Regions from separate parts of the Homo sapiens genome. Here regions 2, 3, 4, 5 and 6 are each linked to region 1. Evidence: promoter capture Hi-C in 16 types of primary human blood cells and fetal thymus (Javierre and others, 2016). All regions are on one chromosome and are shown on one strand. Each heading gives the region's core, a stretch centred on a gene start or on the middle of the fragment in contact. The rest is flanking DNA. Distances are from core to core; before and after follow the strand shown. Region 1 holds the start of ABCC12 (ATP binding cassette subfamily C member 12). Region 2 overlaps ITFG1 (integrin alpha FG-GAP repeat containing 1). Region 3 overlaps ITFG1 (integrin alpha FG-GAP repeat containing 1). Region 4 overlaps ITFG1 (integrin alpha FG-GAP repeat containing 1). Region 5 overlaps ITFG1 (integrin alpha FG-GAP repeat containing 1). Region 6 holds the start of ITFG1 (integrin alpha FG-GAP repeat containing 1).

Region 1 (2,551 bases), core at 16-2,515:
TCTAGCCCAGAAAATTAACAACTTTATGTTTGAGAACTGGACTCTGGGTCTTCCTTGGTGCTCATGATGGGAGTTCCTCCATCAACCAAAAGCAGGCACACCTTTAGTCATAAAATTTTTCCCAGGTATGAGACTACAGCCCTACTTCTTTCTTAATAAATCCATTGTTAATTTAAAGCCACCAAAGTTATCAATATCTGATGGTCTCCCCCAACTCCCACAGCCCCTTCCTCCAGGGCCTGACTGGCCTCCAGCACAGAGGAGACACTGGGGAGCTCTCCCAGGCCCTGCCTGCACCGCACCTCTCCTGTCTGTCCCCAGGTCCCAGGCACCTGTGGCAGCCAGATCAGAAAGCCCTGTGAGTGATGAGGGACTGGGGTTGGGAGGCAGGGAGAGGCAGAGAGGTGGCAGAGGGAAGTGCATGCAGGGGACAGCACCAAGCTGGGGGTGTGGGAAGGGAAGTGGGGGTGCTTTTGCTCAAGTACCCTCATCTCCCAGAAGGCCTAAAACAGTGGCCAGTGATGGCATCTCCAAAAGAGGTCATCCATCCAGTTACAGACACATTCCGACACGATCAAAGAAGGATGCAGAGCCTGGATTCAGAGCAATTCAAATCTACCCTCCCAGGAAAATAATATATTTAAAAGTTAAAAAAAAAAAAAAAAGAAAGAAAGATGAAAACCTCATATGAGAACTGCAGTAAAGCTTTCCAGGTCTTTTTTTTTGGGGGGGAGGTATAAATCCCATAATTAAATTGTGAACACTACCCTGTATATGTGTTTGTGTTTGTGCATGTGTGGGAAAAGACTTAAAATATTCAATGTAGGCTTTTGTATTTCAGAGATTTTGAAATCGCGTCTTGGCATTTCTGCCTTTTCTTTTATGATAGCGGGGGCTCCAAAAGTGGAAGAGGGGCTGCCTTTCTTCTGGGAGCCTCGTCCCTGCTGCCTCCCACTTGGGCAGCCCCATTCAGTGGTGTCACCTCCCCCAAACCCCCCACCACACACACACACAGCCTGTCCTGAGGATGAGAAACAAAGGCCCTTGGGACTAAATGGTGGCCACTAATTGTTACAGGGAGAAGCTTTACCTGGGCTGGAAATGAAGCTTTACCTGGGCTGAGGATGAGAGGGAGGGGAGGAGGGTCAGCAGTCATGGGGCTCAGAGCCTGGCATCTGCTGCCCAGGACTCCAGGGCCTGCTTCTCCCCAAGGACCTCAGATTCAGTTTCTCTTGTCCCACCCGCCTGAAGTCCTCCTCTCCAACTGCCCCATTCAACTGCCACTCCCACCACACCTGAGAGGGAACTCTGGCGGGCCAACATTCCCTCTGCCCACATTAAAGGGCTCTCCCCTCTTCCAGGATGGCCTGTGGCCGGGTCTGGCTCTTTGGTGACAGTCAGAGCCCATGCATGAAAGCACTGTGCATGGCCAGCCCTTCCCTGGCTGTCACAGCACATCCTTGTAGAAGAGAAGGAGAAAAATCCTCTCTCCAACCGTCATTCTACAGACGAGAAGCCCAAGGAACAGAAGCCTGTCCACGACTGGCGTGGGGCTGAGACCAGCACCCAGGTCCCCTGAGTCCCACTCCAGGCTCCTTCCTGAGAGAATGCATCGAATTTTCTACGCTGTGTTCCTGCAACCGGGAATCAACTTTGGGATCAGGGGAAGGGAAGGGAGGGGAGGGGAGGGCAGGGGTAGGGGAGGGCAGGGGTAGGGGAGGGCAGGGGAGGCGAGGGGAGGGGAGATGAGCCTCATCTTCAAAACAGAAAATCTCATTCATTCATTCCCCATTCATTTAACGAAAAAGAAAAGGGTAATTTGAGCTCAATTTGTCTTGAAATGAACGGAAGGTAAGTCTGAGACCTGCACTAGCAGCTAGCCCTTGCATAGAAAAGTTCCCCTGTGTCACCCTTGGAACCCTGCACATCCCGAGCGCAAGCGTGATTCCCGGGGTCCCTTCTGCGCCTGTCCCAGAACAAGCGCCCGATTTCAGGGGAGCCCAGCCGAAGGGTTCCACAGCGCTCAGCGAGCCGGCTGGGAGGGAGCAAACTCTCTAACTGCAGAAAAAAACAAATCTTGATTCCGCTTTAAGGGTTATTTAAACATCTTAGAGGACCTTCCCAGCCTCACGCACGTGGATTTCATGAGGAACTTGGCCGCTACCTTCTCCTGTCCTGCGCAATGCCGCCCCCTGCTGGCTGCCTTCCGGCCCCGCCGCTTCCTGGAGATGCGAATTCACCGCCTTTGCCCAACCTGAGTTCCCTTCCTACCTAGAGGGAGGTGGAAATGGAGAGGGGCTGTGGGCAGCTGTGTAGGAAAATGGGTCCTCCCAGGAAGGCTCCCCGGCCTGGGGAGTGAGCTAGACCGACAGCAGTTTCCTTACACGTGTCCAAAGTGTTCCATTTAATTTCCGTCCATTCTTCCCTTCATGAATGCAAATCACTGCTAATAATATCACTCGACATTTCTGGAGCCCTTTGTGTATCGCAAAATTCTTCATCCTCTTTATCACTTGATCTTCGCAACAACCCCGGGGGTCTCATAAACACA
Region 2 (2,551 bases), core at 35-2,534, 990 kb before region 1:
CTCTCAAAATGCTGGGATTACAGGCGTGACCCACCGTGCTCAGCCAATGATTCACTTTTTAAAGAAAACAGCGTTACTGAGATATAATTCACATACCATACACATCACCCGTTTAAAGTGTACAGTTAAGTGGTTTTGAGTATATTCAAAGAATTGTTCAGCCATCACCACAATCTAATCTTAGAACATTTTTATCACTTGAGAAAGAAACTCCATACACATGAGAAGCCATGTCTGTTTCCAACCTGCACACTTCCAGCTGTATGTAATCACTAATCTGCTTTCTGACTCAATAGATTTGCCTATTCTGAAGATTTCATATAAATGCAATCATACAATGTGGTCTTTTGTGACTGGCTTCTTTCACTTAGCATGTTTTCAAGGTTCATCTATATGGTAGCATGTTTCCATACTTTATTACTGTTACTTGCCAAATAATACTCCACTTTGTTATATATACATTTTGTTTCATTAATTAATTTCATTAATTGATGGACATTTCAGTCATTTCCATTTTTGGTTACTATGAAAATACTGCTGTGAACATTCATATACAGGTTTATTTTTGTATTCACTCTTGTTTTCCTTTCTTTTGATTATGTAGCTAAGTGTTTAACATCATTAGGAACTATCGAACTGTTTCCAAAGTACCTGCACCATTTTATGTTCCCACCAGCAATGGATAATGGTTCAAATTTTTCCACATCCTCAATAACACTTTTTGTTGTGTCTTTTGTATTATAGCCATGCTCATGGTTGTGAAGTGGTATCTCATTATGGTTTTTACTTGCATTTCCCAAATGACTAATAGTTATTAGCCATGAAAATGGTCAATAAACACGTGAAAGAAGCTCAACTACACACACACACACACACACACACACACACACACACACATACACACACACACACACCAATTAAGTAAAGCATCTGGCCCTGTAGGCACATTTTCTGTTGTCTTTTTATTTTTTTAAAGAGATGTGTATTAGCCTACTTTCCTGTTTCTTTGTATGTCTTATAATTTTTGTTGAAAACTGGACTTTTAAGATAATATTGATAACTCTGGTATCGCTTAACCCCACCCAAGGGTTTGTTGTTTTGTTACTGTTTATTTGTTTAGTGACTTTTTTTTTTTTTTCATGTAGTGAATTCTGTGGATTCTGTATTCCCTGCAGCAGTTGCCCCAGGGTCTTTTTAATTTTTATTTTTAAAGTTTTTATTCTACATCTGGCTTCCTACTTGGCATACCTGGGTCAGTATTATTTAGTGGTCAGCCAGTGATTTGTTGTAAGATTTCCCTAAATCTCTTGCCTGTACATCTCCCACCCTTTGTCAAAGTGATTTGTGTGTGAAGGCATGCCTTCAAAGTTCAGAAAATGACAGCCTTAGTTTTCATTTCCTGCTTACGCAGGGCTTCATGGTGAAGCAGAAGGGAGCTGATTATTTGAATGAGGTGTTTTCCTTTCTAGGAATTTGCAAAGTCTTCTAGATCCCCAAAAATATGTTGTAGCTTTTCAAAGCTGCGTATGTTTTCCAGTTTTCTAAGAATTCCTCTTATATTTTGATCAGGATCTTGTTTCCTCCACCTTTAATCACATGCTTAGGTAGCTGAGATGTTGCCAGCAGATTACTGTTGTTTTTGGTAATGCCCTAGTCAAATGAAATAGCCAAGATGCTGAGAATGAAGATTTTCCAGGGAGCTGCTAGTTCAGACAAAATGTTGATAGTAATAGGGATGGAGATTTTCATGCAGCTCCAAGGAGGTCAGTCATATCCATTGGCTGTGAAGCCGCTGGCTTTCCATGGCTACTGCACTACTCAGTTGAGAAGGGGGGCAGGATGGGAATTGCTCCAAGATAAAAATGCCATAGATTCGGTGTCTTATCAAGGATCAGTAGTTTTCCTTAGAATAGACAATACTCAGTCCATTCTGTGGCTTTGGTTAATTTCCAGAGTTCTGAAATGGTGGATATTATATGGTTGGCCAGTATTTTTGTTGTTGTTCTTTTTGGGGGCTCTGGGAGAGCAAGTTCATGTGGTCCTCACACTGCCATTCCAATAGTCAATCTTTCCCTATTGTAATTCACTTTTATACAATATATGTATTTTCTAGGTATTTTTCTACATGCTTAAACTTAACATTTAAATGACAAAGTTAATTAATATATAAATATTTTAATATTCAAGGGGACTCTGCTAAACATCACTAATGTTATCCAAAAATATGCAATCACTGGAAAGTATATTTACCTGATTATTTATATAGTTCTTAAGTTGGAAACAGTAAGGTATAATGAAAAGGAACATGAATTTAAGGATAGGCATTAACAATGTGTATGAAACTGGAAAACAGTATAGTGAACAGCATGGGCTGCAGAATTAGTCCACCTTGTGGAATTGAGCTGATTGAAAGATAATGTTTAAAAGTAGAGTATCTCACATAGTAAATAATAATGTTAGCTATCTTTATTAAGATAAAATTTATTCTTACAGAGTTGAATTAAAAATTAAAAGCAGGCCATTTATGCCTGTCATCCCAGCACTCTGGGAG
Region 3 (2,551 bases), core at 31-2,530, 970 kb before region 1:
CAAACAGAGAGCCAAATCATGAGTGAACTCCCATTCACAATTGCTTCAAAGAGAATCAAATACCTAGGAATCCAACTTACAAGGGATGTGAAGGACCTCTTCAAGGAGAACTACAAACCACTGCTCAAGGAAATAAAAGAGGATACAAACAAATGGAAGAACATTCCATGCTCATGGGTAGGAAGAATAAATATTGTGAAAATGGCCATACTGCCCAAGGTAATTTACAGATTCAATGCCATCCCCATCAAGCTACCAATGACTTTCTTCACAGAATTGGAAAAAACTACTTTAACGTTCATATGGAAACAAAAAAGAGCCCGCATCGCCAAGTCAATCCTAAGCCAAAAGAACAAAGCTGGAGGCATCATGCTACCTGACTTCAAACTATACTACAAGGCTACAGTAACCAAAACAGCATGGTACTGGTACCAAAACAGAGATATAGATCAATGGAACAGAACAGAGCCCTCAGAAATAATGCCGCATATCTACAACTATCTCATCTTTGACAAACCTGAGAAAAACAAGCAATGGGGAAAGGATTCCCTATTTAATAAATGGTGCTGGGAAAACTGGCTAGCCATATTTAGAAAGCTGAAACTGGATCCCTTCCTTACACCTTATACAAAAATCAATTCAAGATGGATTAAAGACTTAAACATTAGACCTAAAACCATAAAAACCCTAGAAGAAAACCTAGGCATTACCATTCAGGACATAGGCATGGGCAAGCACTTCCTGTCTAAAACACCAAAAGCAATGGCAACAAAAGCCAAAATTGACAAATGGGATCTAATTAAACCAAAGAGCTTCTGCACAGCAAAAGAAACTACCATCAGAGTGAACAGGCAACCTACAAAATGGGAGAAAATCTTCGCAACCTACTCATCTGACAAAGGGCTAATATCCAGAATCTACAATGAACTCAAACAAATTTACAAGAAAAAAACAAACAACCACATCAAAAAGTGGGCGAAGGACATGAACAGACACTTCTCAAAAGAAGACATTTATGCAGCCAAAAAACACATGAAAAAATGCTCATCATCACTGGCTATCAGAGAAATGCAAATCAAAACCACAGTGAGATACCATCTCACACCAGTTAGAATGGCAATCATTAAAAAGTCAGGAAACAACAGGTGCTGGAGAGGATGTGGAGAAATAGGAACACTTTTACACTGTTGGTGGGACTGTAAACTAGTTCAACCATTGTGGAAGTCAGTGTGGCGATTCCTCAGGGATCTAGAACTAGAAATACCATTTGACCCAGCCGTCCCATTACTGGGTATATACCCAAAGGACTATAAATCATGCTACTATAAAGACACATGTGCACGTATGTTTATTGCGGCATTATTCACTATAGCAAAGACTTGGAACCAACCCAAATGTCCAACAATGATAGACTGGATTAAGAAAATGTGGCACATATACACCATGGAATACTATGCAGTCATAAAAAATGATGAGTTCATGTCCTTTGTAGGGACATGGATGAAATTGGAAATCATCATTCTCAGTAAACTATTGCAAGAACAAAAAACCAAACACCGCATATTCTCACTCATAGGTGGGAATTGAACAATGAGAACACATGGACAGAGGAAGGGAAACATCATACTCTGGGGACTGTTGTGGGGTGGGGGGAGGGGGGAGGGGGGAGGGATAGCATTGGGAGATATACCTAATGCTAGATGACGAGTTAGTGGGTGCAGCGCATCAGCATGTCACATGTATACATACGTAACTAACCTGCACATTGTGCACATGTACCCTAAAACTTAAAGTATAATAAGAAAAAAAAAATACAAAAAAAGTGCTTTGTAAACTACAAAGCAGTGCAGTGGCGCTATCTTGGCTCACTGCAACCTCCACTTCCTGGGTTTAAGCGATGCTCCTGCCTTAGCCTCCCAAGTAGCTGGGATTAGAAGTGTGTGCCACCATGCCCAGCTAATTTTTGTATTTTTAGTAGAGGCAGGGTTTTGCCATGTTGGCCAAGCTGGTCTTGAACTCCCAACCTCAGTGATCCACCTGCCTCAGCCTTCTAAAGTGCTGGGATTACAGGCTTTAGCCACCACACCCAGCCCCATAAACAGTTTTTAATGAAGGTTCTTCTAATTTCTTTTTTGGAATAAATGAAGAAATTGGAACCCTGGTTCAAGCTCTTGTCAGCCTACTTCCCAGTTATACATTTAGAATGTGAGTAGTTTTTATGTTTCTTCTTTTGTGTTAAATTGGTATATAATTCACATACCACAAAACCCACCAGTTTACAGTGTACAATTCAGTGGTTTTTAGTACACTGACAAGGCTGTGCAACTGACACCAATTCCAGAATATTTTCATTACCACAAAAAAAACCCCACACCCAAGAGCACTTAGTTCCCATTTCTTCCTCCCTCCAGCCCCTGGTAACCACTACTGTCCTTTCTACCTCTATGAAGTTGCCTATTCTGGACCTTTCATATAAATGAAGTTGGACAATATGTGGCCTTTTGTGTCTGGCTGTATTCGCTTAGAATAGTTTAGTATGGTTCATCATATT
Region 4 (2,551 bases), core at 36-2,535, 950 kb before region 1:
TGGCTGGGATGGTTTTGGGATGATTCAAGCACATTACATTTATTATGCACTTTATTTCTATTATTATTACATTGTAACATGTAATGAATTATACAACTCACCATAATGTAGAATCAGTGGGAGCCCTGAGCTTGTCTTCCTGCAACTAGACAGTCCCATCTGGGGGTGATGGGAGACAGTGACAGATCATCAGGCATAGATTCTCATAAGGAGCGTGCAGCCCAGATCCCTTACACGAACAGTTCACAATAGGGTTCATGGTCCTGTGAGAATCTAATGCAGCGGCTGATCTGACAGGAGGCAGAGCTCAGGCTATAATGTGATTGATGGGGAGCAGCTGTAAATACAGATGAAGCTTTGCTTGCTCACCTGCTGCTCACCTCCTGCTATGTGGCCCGGTTCCTAACAGGCCATGGATTGGTACTGGTCTGTGGCCTGGGGGATGGGCACCCCTGACCTAGAGTACTCAGATTCATAGAGACTGAAGGTAGAATGGTACATGCCATGGGCTGGAGCAGGAGGGAAATGGGGAGTTAGCGTTTAATGGGTACAGAGTTTCAAGTCTGCAAGGTGAAGTGCTCTGGAGAGTAATGATGGTGATGGTTGCACACAGTGTGAATACACTTAGTACTACTGAACTGTATACTTAAAAATGGTTAAGATGATATATTTTATGTTTATATGTATTTCACCACAATTTAAAACAAAAATGAAAAGTCCCCACCCCTGCCAAATATGGTGGTGATGCTAAGAAAAACTGTCCATGGTCCCATATAAAAATGTAATTTTGTCCAATACATATATTATTAGCATTTTTATCCCCAGTAAAATCTTTCCATGGCATCTGACAGCCCACTTGTTATAGCTAAATTTTGTCAACCACACCTATACCAACCCTGCCGAAGATTCACCCTTGGTAACAAGCTTCCATAACAAAAATTTCAAAACAACTACTTTATGATTTCAAAGTTTGAATTTCTGTGAGTCATTCCTTCCCTCAGTGACTCCAACAGGTACCTTAAAACTAGCTGACTTTATAAGCTTAGAGTATTTCTAAGATACACATCATATTCCCTTTTCTTCCTAAACTGCTTCTAAAGATAATAAATTCAGCATTTTAGCTAATAGAAATGCTTTCGTATTTTGTTAGCTTTTGGTTTTTAAAACATTTGTTTTTATTTCTATTATAGCTCTTTTAACTATTTCTTGTCTGACTGTTATGCTAAGGAGGTATGCATACACACATCATTTGTACCAGGTGGTATTAAAAGTAAAATAAGGTTTAATGAACCACTGACAGGCAGAGCAGTAGCTGAATGCCTGGGTCCCTTTCCCCCTACCATCCTGTATTATTAAGGTGCATGCATCAACTGCAGCAGGATGCACCATGGAAAATACTCAAGTGCCCCAGTCTTTGTGGCATTTTAAATTTTATATGGACATTGGAAGAAGACTGGGAATATCTAGAAGACATGAGAGCTTCCTGGCTGAGAAAACTGTCTTTGTTAGAAAGGAGGAGTGTCAGGAACTAAGCTTCAATTATTAGGCTGTTGTATTCTCTAAACTCATATGCTGAGCCAGCACTTTGCTAAACTATCAAAAGACAGGTCCCAGGACCATCAGATGTACCTCTCCTGCCTCTCCAAATCTTTTCCTAATTCATCTGTCTGTTTACAATGCCACATGATGCCTGGCAAATAATACTACTATTTACATAGGAAGGTGGGAAGGATTTCCAAATATCCGTAGAAGTTTGGAATCATAGCTGAATATTCATAAGTTTATAAAGTTTTGTGATATTTGTGAGTTTTATAGTCTACATCAGGATTTCTCAAGTCAGCACTGTTGACATTTTGGGATGGATAATTTTTTGTTGAGGGAGCTGTTCTATCTGTTATAGTTTGCTTAGCAGCCTCCTGGCCTCTATCCACTAGATGCCAGTAGCACCCTCCCAGTTGTGACAATCAAAAATGCCTGCAGACATTGTCAAATGTCTCCCATGAGTCAAAATCACCCGATTGAGAACCACTGGTCCAAAGACAATTCGTACAAATTTTCAGACTCAGATTCTTAGTGCACTCAATGCAAGTCAGTGTATTTCTGAATCGGGATGAGAAAAAGTAAATTAGGGGGTAAAAACTCCTCATTTCCTGCATAATCAGCCTGGGAGAGGAGAAAAGGATCATTTTTATTGATCAAGGTTTTCTACGCTCTGTGATTATTCTAATAAAGTTATGAGCTTCTAGCCTTCTGAATAAATTTTCTGTGAAAGAAGTTATCTAACTACAGGAAGTAACCAGGCTTTCAGGATTGGAGCAACCAGTGAGAACTCCATACTTCAACAGACTTCATCCTAGGAACACACACAGAGATTGAACATCCACTCCGATCGTATCATCAACCAGTGTGCAATTCAGTTTAATTAATCAGAGTCATAGTTGTTTGTCAATTTCCCCAGCTGGAATTAAATTATCTATCTATCTATCTATCTATCTATCTATCTATCTATCTATCTATCTATCTATCTATCTGAGTCTAACTTTGTTGCCCA
Region 5 (2,551 bases), core at 38-2,537, 900 kb before region 1:
AAGAAAATAGAGCAATGTTTATAAAATTCTGTAATAGCGAACTTAGTGTTAACAGTAAGAGCAAGAGAAAGATATTTTAAGACATACTAGTACTCAGAAAATATATTAACCTAAGTACAATTTTTCTGAAAATAACTTGAGAAAATACTTCACCAAAAGAAATAGGGGAAAATGTGGTGTATAAGAAAAAAGGTGGCAATAAGGCTGGTAAAATTTGTTTATTACTGATAATATGGTTGTGAATTATTAAGAAAGGATTTATAAAATGGAAGGCACAAAAAGTAAAACAAAATTAATCATCCAGAAATTAAACTTCCATATTATTTCAACAAAACCCAGAGGCAGGCAAGGGGAATAAAAGCTTTCCCATTAAGTATCTGCTTTTGGAGAAAAAAGAAAAAAGAAAGCTTTCCCAAAGGAAAGGTCTCATCTTGTTTGGTAAACAAAGGTGAAGATACTGTTACAATTTTAAAAGTCCTAGGGGAAACAGGGTTCATCCAGGTTTGTTAGAAATGAGTTAAGTTCTAGACTAGAATTAAGATTCAGAACCTCCAAGTGTATCTGACAGGAATAACAATAAAAGATGAGAGCTAGTAACTAGTCTTGATTCAGGGGAGAGGGGACCCCACAATTCTGTAATACGCAAGGTCCCCGTCTTCATGTAAGTGCTGTGGATCTGCTGTGCTGTGCGTAAGAGAAGCAGAAGGGCAGTTTACATTGCCATGGCCACATATAAAAGCTTAAGTATCCCCAATTTCCTTAACTGAAAAACAGTGGCATTTAGTATAGGCTGGTTTGAGATTAGAGTAACAGAATAATTTAAGAGCAAAATCAGCTGTGGACATTGCCGATGGCTGTGAAGGGTAATTACGTGCTAGTAACTGACTTAAGGCAAACAACCGATAATCAAAGGAAAGAGTGGAAGGGCATCTCAAAACAACTAGAAGGTTATTTTTCTTCCAAATGATTGCTTTAAATTGGGATCTCATTTCCTGTGACCTTTCTGTAAATTACATTATTAATATTTATGTTAATATCTTTAATGCAAAGTTATCCTGTTTTCTAAAACTAAAACCTCCTGCACCAAATTGGCTATCTATGGGTCTCAGCTTGGAGATGTGTGGAGAATCCTCTCCTCAGGATAATGTTACTGAGACTGCAGGGTGACTTGTCCTGATTTAGGGTGGTAAGTTGAAGGCCAGGGATTCTTAAACTCCAGATTAGAGATTCTCAAGACTCTCTTCAGTTTTCTGTTTTAACTTTTTACTACAGAACATTTCAAACAAAAGTATAAACATATATAAAACTGAAAATAGCAGAATGAACCTCACACACATTTCTCACAATTTGAAAAACTGTCAACAACACATGGCCAACCTTGTTTCATGTATACCTAGCTTCCACATCCCTGGATTACTTTAAAGAAGGGCTCAGACATGTCATTTCACTGTCAGGTAGTTTGCTGTCTCACTATTTAATGATGTAAAGGCTACATTTTCCTGAGCAGGACCATGATGTGTTCTGAGTATTCTGTTATTATGATTATAAGTTAGGGCAGTGGTCCCCAACCTTTCTGGCACCACAGATGGGTTTTGCAGAAGAAGGGCAATTTTTTCACAGATGGGGGTTAGATGGGTGATGGTTTCAGGATTGTTCCACCTCAGATCATCAGGCATTAGTTAGATTCTCATAAGGAGCACACAACCTAGATCCCTCACATGTGCAGTTCACAATAGGCGTCGTGCTCCTATGAGAATCTAATGCTACTGCTGCTCTGACAGGAGACAGAGCTCAGGCGGTAATGCCAGTGATGGGGTGTGGCTATAAATACAGGGGAAGCTTTGCTCGCCCTCCGGCCGTTCACCTCCTGTCGTGCGGCCTGGTTCCTAATAGGTCTCAGACTAGTACTGGTCTGCAGCCTGGGGTTTGGGACCCCTGCGTTAGGGTGTGCTTTAACAATAAAAACTAGAGTAATTTTATTGGAACAATTTTTAAAAAATTCAACAGATACCTATAAAGGGCCTACTATACACCAGACATGAGTATCAATGGACAGAACTAACTAAATATGCACATTTTGACTTGAGTTTTCTAACAACTAAACTGATCATAAAAGAAGTCTGTGTTGCATTATGAGGAGGTGAGGTCTCCTTTAGTACAAAGCATTCAAGCAGAAGCTAAGATGTTGCATTAGGTTAGACTTGGGCAAGATGCCTTTTGAGATTTTCCCCATCTCTAATATCTTGTTTTTGTAATTAAAAAAAATGTAAATGAATAAATGCCAAGGAAGAACTTGGGACCCTAAATTATATGCATACATTTTCCCACGTGGATAATTTCTAAATGATCAATATAAAAAAAGTCAGACCTTCTTTTGCCTCACCCTGAGAACTGCCTACTCTCTTTAGCATATTATTATTATTATTATTATTATTACAACTGGGAATTGGAATATCTTATCAATGTTACAAAAACCCTATGCTCTGATTCCCATCCGTTCTACCTGGCTGGGGACCTCTGTGCGAGGGAAGAACTTGCAGACTTGAGCATG
Region 6 (2,551 bases), core at 15-2,514, 690 kb before region 1:
GTTTGGACACAGCAGCAACAGGTTTGGCAGTACACTGCAAAATGAGGAGTCAAAAAGATTGGGAAAATATTCAGGGTTTGTAAGAGGTTCCTGCATCCCCGCAAGGGCTCCAAGAAGTCTGGTTCAGGATCCTGTCAGGCAAGCTCTGAGTAGCTCTTCCTTCCTTCCTTCACAGCATTGATCTTTAAGCAGCACCTGCTTCTGTAGGTACTCAAGAACCCTAAGACCCCCTAATGCCCACTGTCAGCATCAAGATTTACAAAAAAGTTAGTTTAACGATTGTCAAAGCAAAGAATTTCCAAGAACAAGTTAGCAAAGAAAGTAGACATTTGGAACACTAAGGTGATGACCAAGATGAGGAAGGAGTACACGAAAGAACAGGCAGCTCAAGAGAGAAATTTCTGTAGTTTGAGACTGCTTTCCCAAGGAGGCATTGGGTTTATCAGTGGTCCCTGCAAAATGCTTGTGTGAGCTGTTTAGTGTTTAGGCCCTTGGAAGGGTACATTCGCTTCATAGAAAGTTGTGGCCTTGACAAAGAAAGGGGTGGGCGAATTAGGTAGGTGGGGAGGCAAGAAGAAGCCCCCTATGAGAAGAGATTGTCAGGTTGCACCTTTTCATGTTCATCAACGGGGAAGGAAGACTGAAGCAAAATAGAAAGGAATGAGTGGGCCTTGGGAGCGAACGTTGAGGCAAGCTACAAAGATTCCTAGGAATCAGGAAGCACTTTGGAAAACAGGTGATTCCATGGGGAGGAGGGGGTAAGGTGACTGGGTGAGGGCCGCAGACTTCTTAGGAACAAAACTGAGGTGCTGTCAGGGCTTTTGAGGGTAGGTCAAACTGTAGGGTAGCTGGGTCAGAACCTGGGGTTGGAAAGGGTGGTGCAAAAGGACAAGCTGTTAAGAATGCTAAAGGGAAGGCCACAGGGCTGGGAGAGAAGGACCAGGAAATGCAGAAGGACCGGCCATTGGGCAATGGGTTTGGGGAACACCGGGAGAGGCACACGGACAGCGAACAGAGGGAGGGCCCGGCAAGCACTGACTTTCCCGCAGCACGAAGAGATCCGTCTGCTTGTCGGAGTTGAGGTCCCCGAAAGCCGCAAGGGTGCCCCAGGCCTCGGCCCCAAAGAGCTCGGCCGTGACGTTGTGCAGCGCCCGCGCTGGGACCGGCCCGACTCCCAGTAGTGCAAGCCCTGCGAGGAGCGGCGAGAAGAGGGCCCAGGAGCTCGGGAGCCGGCCCGCCGCCGCCATGGCAGCCCCTCAGCCCCCGCCCGCCGGCCCAACGCCGCGCTTGACGACAGCCGCAAAGCACCGCGTTACCGGCCGAGAGAGTGGCGCGCAGCCCCGGGACGCGTAAGAGCCGCTGCCGGCTCCTTTTTCTCTCTCCCACTAGGGCTGCCCTTCCGACGCTAAAAAAGCAGTGGAGCTAGGGTGAAAGCCGCCCTCACGCTCACTTCCGGCAGGCGCGCCTCCCGACAGTGTCGTGCGGGGGGCGTGGCCCGGCATTGCTGACAGGCGGCCCCGGGGGCGGTGGCCAAGGCGGCGACCGGAGCGCGATGGCGGGGGCGGCGGGACTCACGGCAGAAGTGAGCTGGAAGGTCTTGGAGCGAAGAGCTCGGACCAAGCGCTCAGGTTTGGCTGGCTGGGGCGCCGCCCCCCACCCGAGTACCTTGGGTGGTGCTTCGCCTCAAGCGCCTTGGCGGGAGGCAGGTGGGGGCCCTGGGAATGAACCTGTGCCCCGAGTTCCTCCTTAGAAAGCAGGTGGCGGCCCTGGCCTTGTTTCTAATATCTTCCTCCACCTCTAAAAATTAGGTGGCAGAGCCAGCTCCACTCTGCGTGTGCCCCCGACTCTATTCCGCTTGTGAGCCCCACTCGGAAAGTAGGCAGCGGTCCGGACTTCCCTTAGAGTCTTCTAACTTAAAAATCGGGCGGCGGCACATTCCTGGGAAAGGGAATGTGTCTTCCCTGTGAATGTGTCTTTCCTGTGAATGTTCTCTGCAAAAGTCAGATAGCTTAATCAGACCAAGTCAGATGTAACTACGATCTGGCTGCAGAAAGCCGGCGTCTGGGCTCCTTGCTTTATGTCTTATATCCCTTTTACATTCCCCACAGGTTCTAAGCAGTAGACCTGTCATCTATCTAGCAGAAACTGAAGGAGACTGGGCCTCAGATATTGAAGAGTATAGTTAGGGCCCAGAAAGAAAAGGGCTTCTTAAGTGGCCCCAGGTTGTGTGGTTTCCAAACCCGAAAGCATAGAGGTCAGAAGGTGCCTTGCAGGCAGTTTTAACAGTTCCAAGTGTCCCGAACTGACTTGTTCAAATTGCAACGTCATGACTTGTGGCGTTATTAAAACTTCCTGTATTCCTGGTTGGCTGGATATAATCTTGAACAAAAGGCATGCACTTAAACAGGAAAGGTGAAAGGCGGAATGCAGGTTTTCAGCTAAGGAGCTTCCCTTTTAAAGAATTGATGAAGTGTCATTATTGGGGGTGGGTGTGAAAGGTGTTAGCTAGGAAAATTAACTTTGCACTTGCATTGATATTAAGAAATTATTT

The links. The method cuts DNA at HindIII sites, captures the fragments that hold promoters and counts their contacts. A CHiCAGO score of 5 or more calls a contact.
Region 2: a contact is called between a fragment that was not itself captured here and the fragment with the promoter of ABCC12 in region 1, in 16 of 17 cell types (total B cells, naive CD4 T cells, total CD8 T cells and 13 more). The highest score is 11.9, in total B cells.
Region 3: a contact is called between a fragment that was not itself captured here and the fragment with the promoter of ABCC12 in region 1, in 1 of 17 cell types (erythroblasts). The highest score is 5.7, in erythroblasts.
Region 4: a contact is called between a fragment that was not itself captured here and the fragment with the promoter of ABCC12 in region 1, in 1 of 17 cell types (total B cells). The highest score is 5.5, in total B cells.
Region 5: a fragment that was not itself captured here is called in contact with the fragment with the promoter of ABCC12 in region 1 in 1 of 17 cell types (total B cells); the score reaches 5.5 in total B cells.
Region 6: the fragment with the promoter of ITFG1 here is called in contact with the fragment with the promoter of ABCC12 in region 1 in 1 of 17 cell types (M2 macrophages); the score reaches 6.1 in M2 macrophages.

What each region holds. Positions count from the first base shown.
Region 1 is chr16:48,154,728-48,157,278 of GRCh38, forward strand. It overlaps ABCC12 (ATP binding cassette subfamily C member 12), which reads right to left and starts at 1,266. Exons shown (of 31, transcript NM_001393797.1): 1 at 1,114-1,266. The HindIII fragment of the contact is 11,154 bases long and covers 1,106-2,551 here.
Region 2 is chr16:47,163,057-47,165,607 of GRCh38, forward strand. The region is part of intron 14 of ITFG1 (integrin alpha FG-GAP repeat containing 1); the gene reads right to left. Among named protein-coding and RNA genes, the nearest start is that of ITFG1-AS1, 20 kb to the left of the region's middle. The HindIII fragment of the contact is 3,933 bases long and covers 1-2,551 here.
Region 3 is chr16:47,186,972-47,189,522 of GRCh38, forward strand. All of the region lies in intron 14 of ITFG1 (integrin alpha FG-GAP repeat containing 1), which reads right to left. Among named protein-coding and RNA genes, the nearest start is that of ITFG1-AS1, 44 kb to the left of the region's middle. The HindIII fragment of the contact is 3,704 bases long and covers 1-2,551 here.
Region 4 is chr16:47,203,359-47,205,909 of GRCh38, forward strand. The region is part of intron 14 of ITFG1 (integrin alpha FG-GAP repeat containing 1); the gene reads right to left. Among named protein-coding and RNA genes, the nearest start is that of ITFG1-AS1, 61 kb to the left of the region's middle. The HindIII fragment of the contact is 492 bases long and covers 1,040-1,531 here.
Region 5 is chr16:47,251,971-47,254,521 of GRCh38, forward strand. All of the region lies in intron 12 of ITFG1 (integrin alpha FG-GAP repeat containing 1), which reads right to left. Among named protein-coding and RNA genes, the nearest start is that of ITFG1-AS2, 20 kb to the right of the region's middle. The HindIII fragment of the contact is 1,100 bases long and covers 738-1,837 here.
Region 6 is chr16:47,459,799-47,462,349 of GRCh38, forward strand. ITFG1 (integrin alpha FG-GAP repeat containing 1) reads right to left here and starts at 1,265. Exons shown (of 18, transcript NM_030790.5): 1 at 1,040-1,265. The coding sequence starts at 1,247. PHKB (phosphorylase kinase regulatory subunit beta) reads left to right here and starts at 1,533. Exons shown (of 31, transcript NM_000293.3): 1 at 1,533-1,628. The coding sequence starts at 1,553. RefSeq lists a silencer at 1,174-1,643. The HindIII fragment of the contact is 8,409 bases long and covers 1-2,551 here.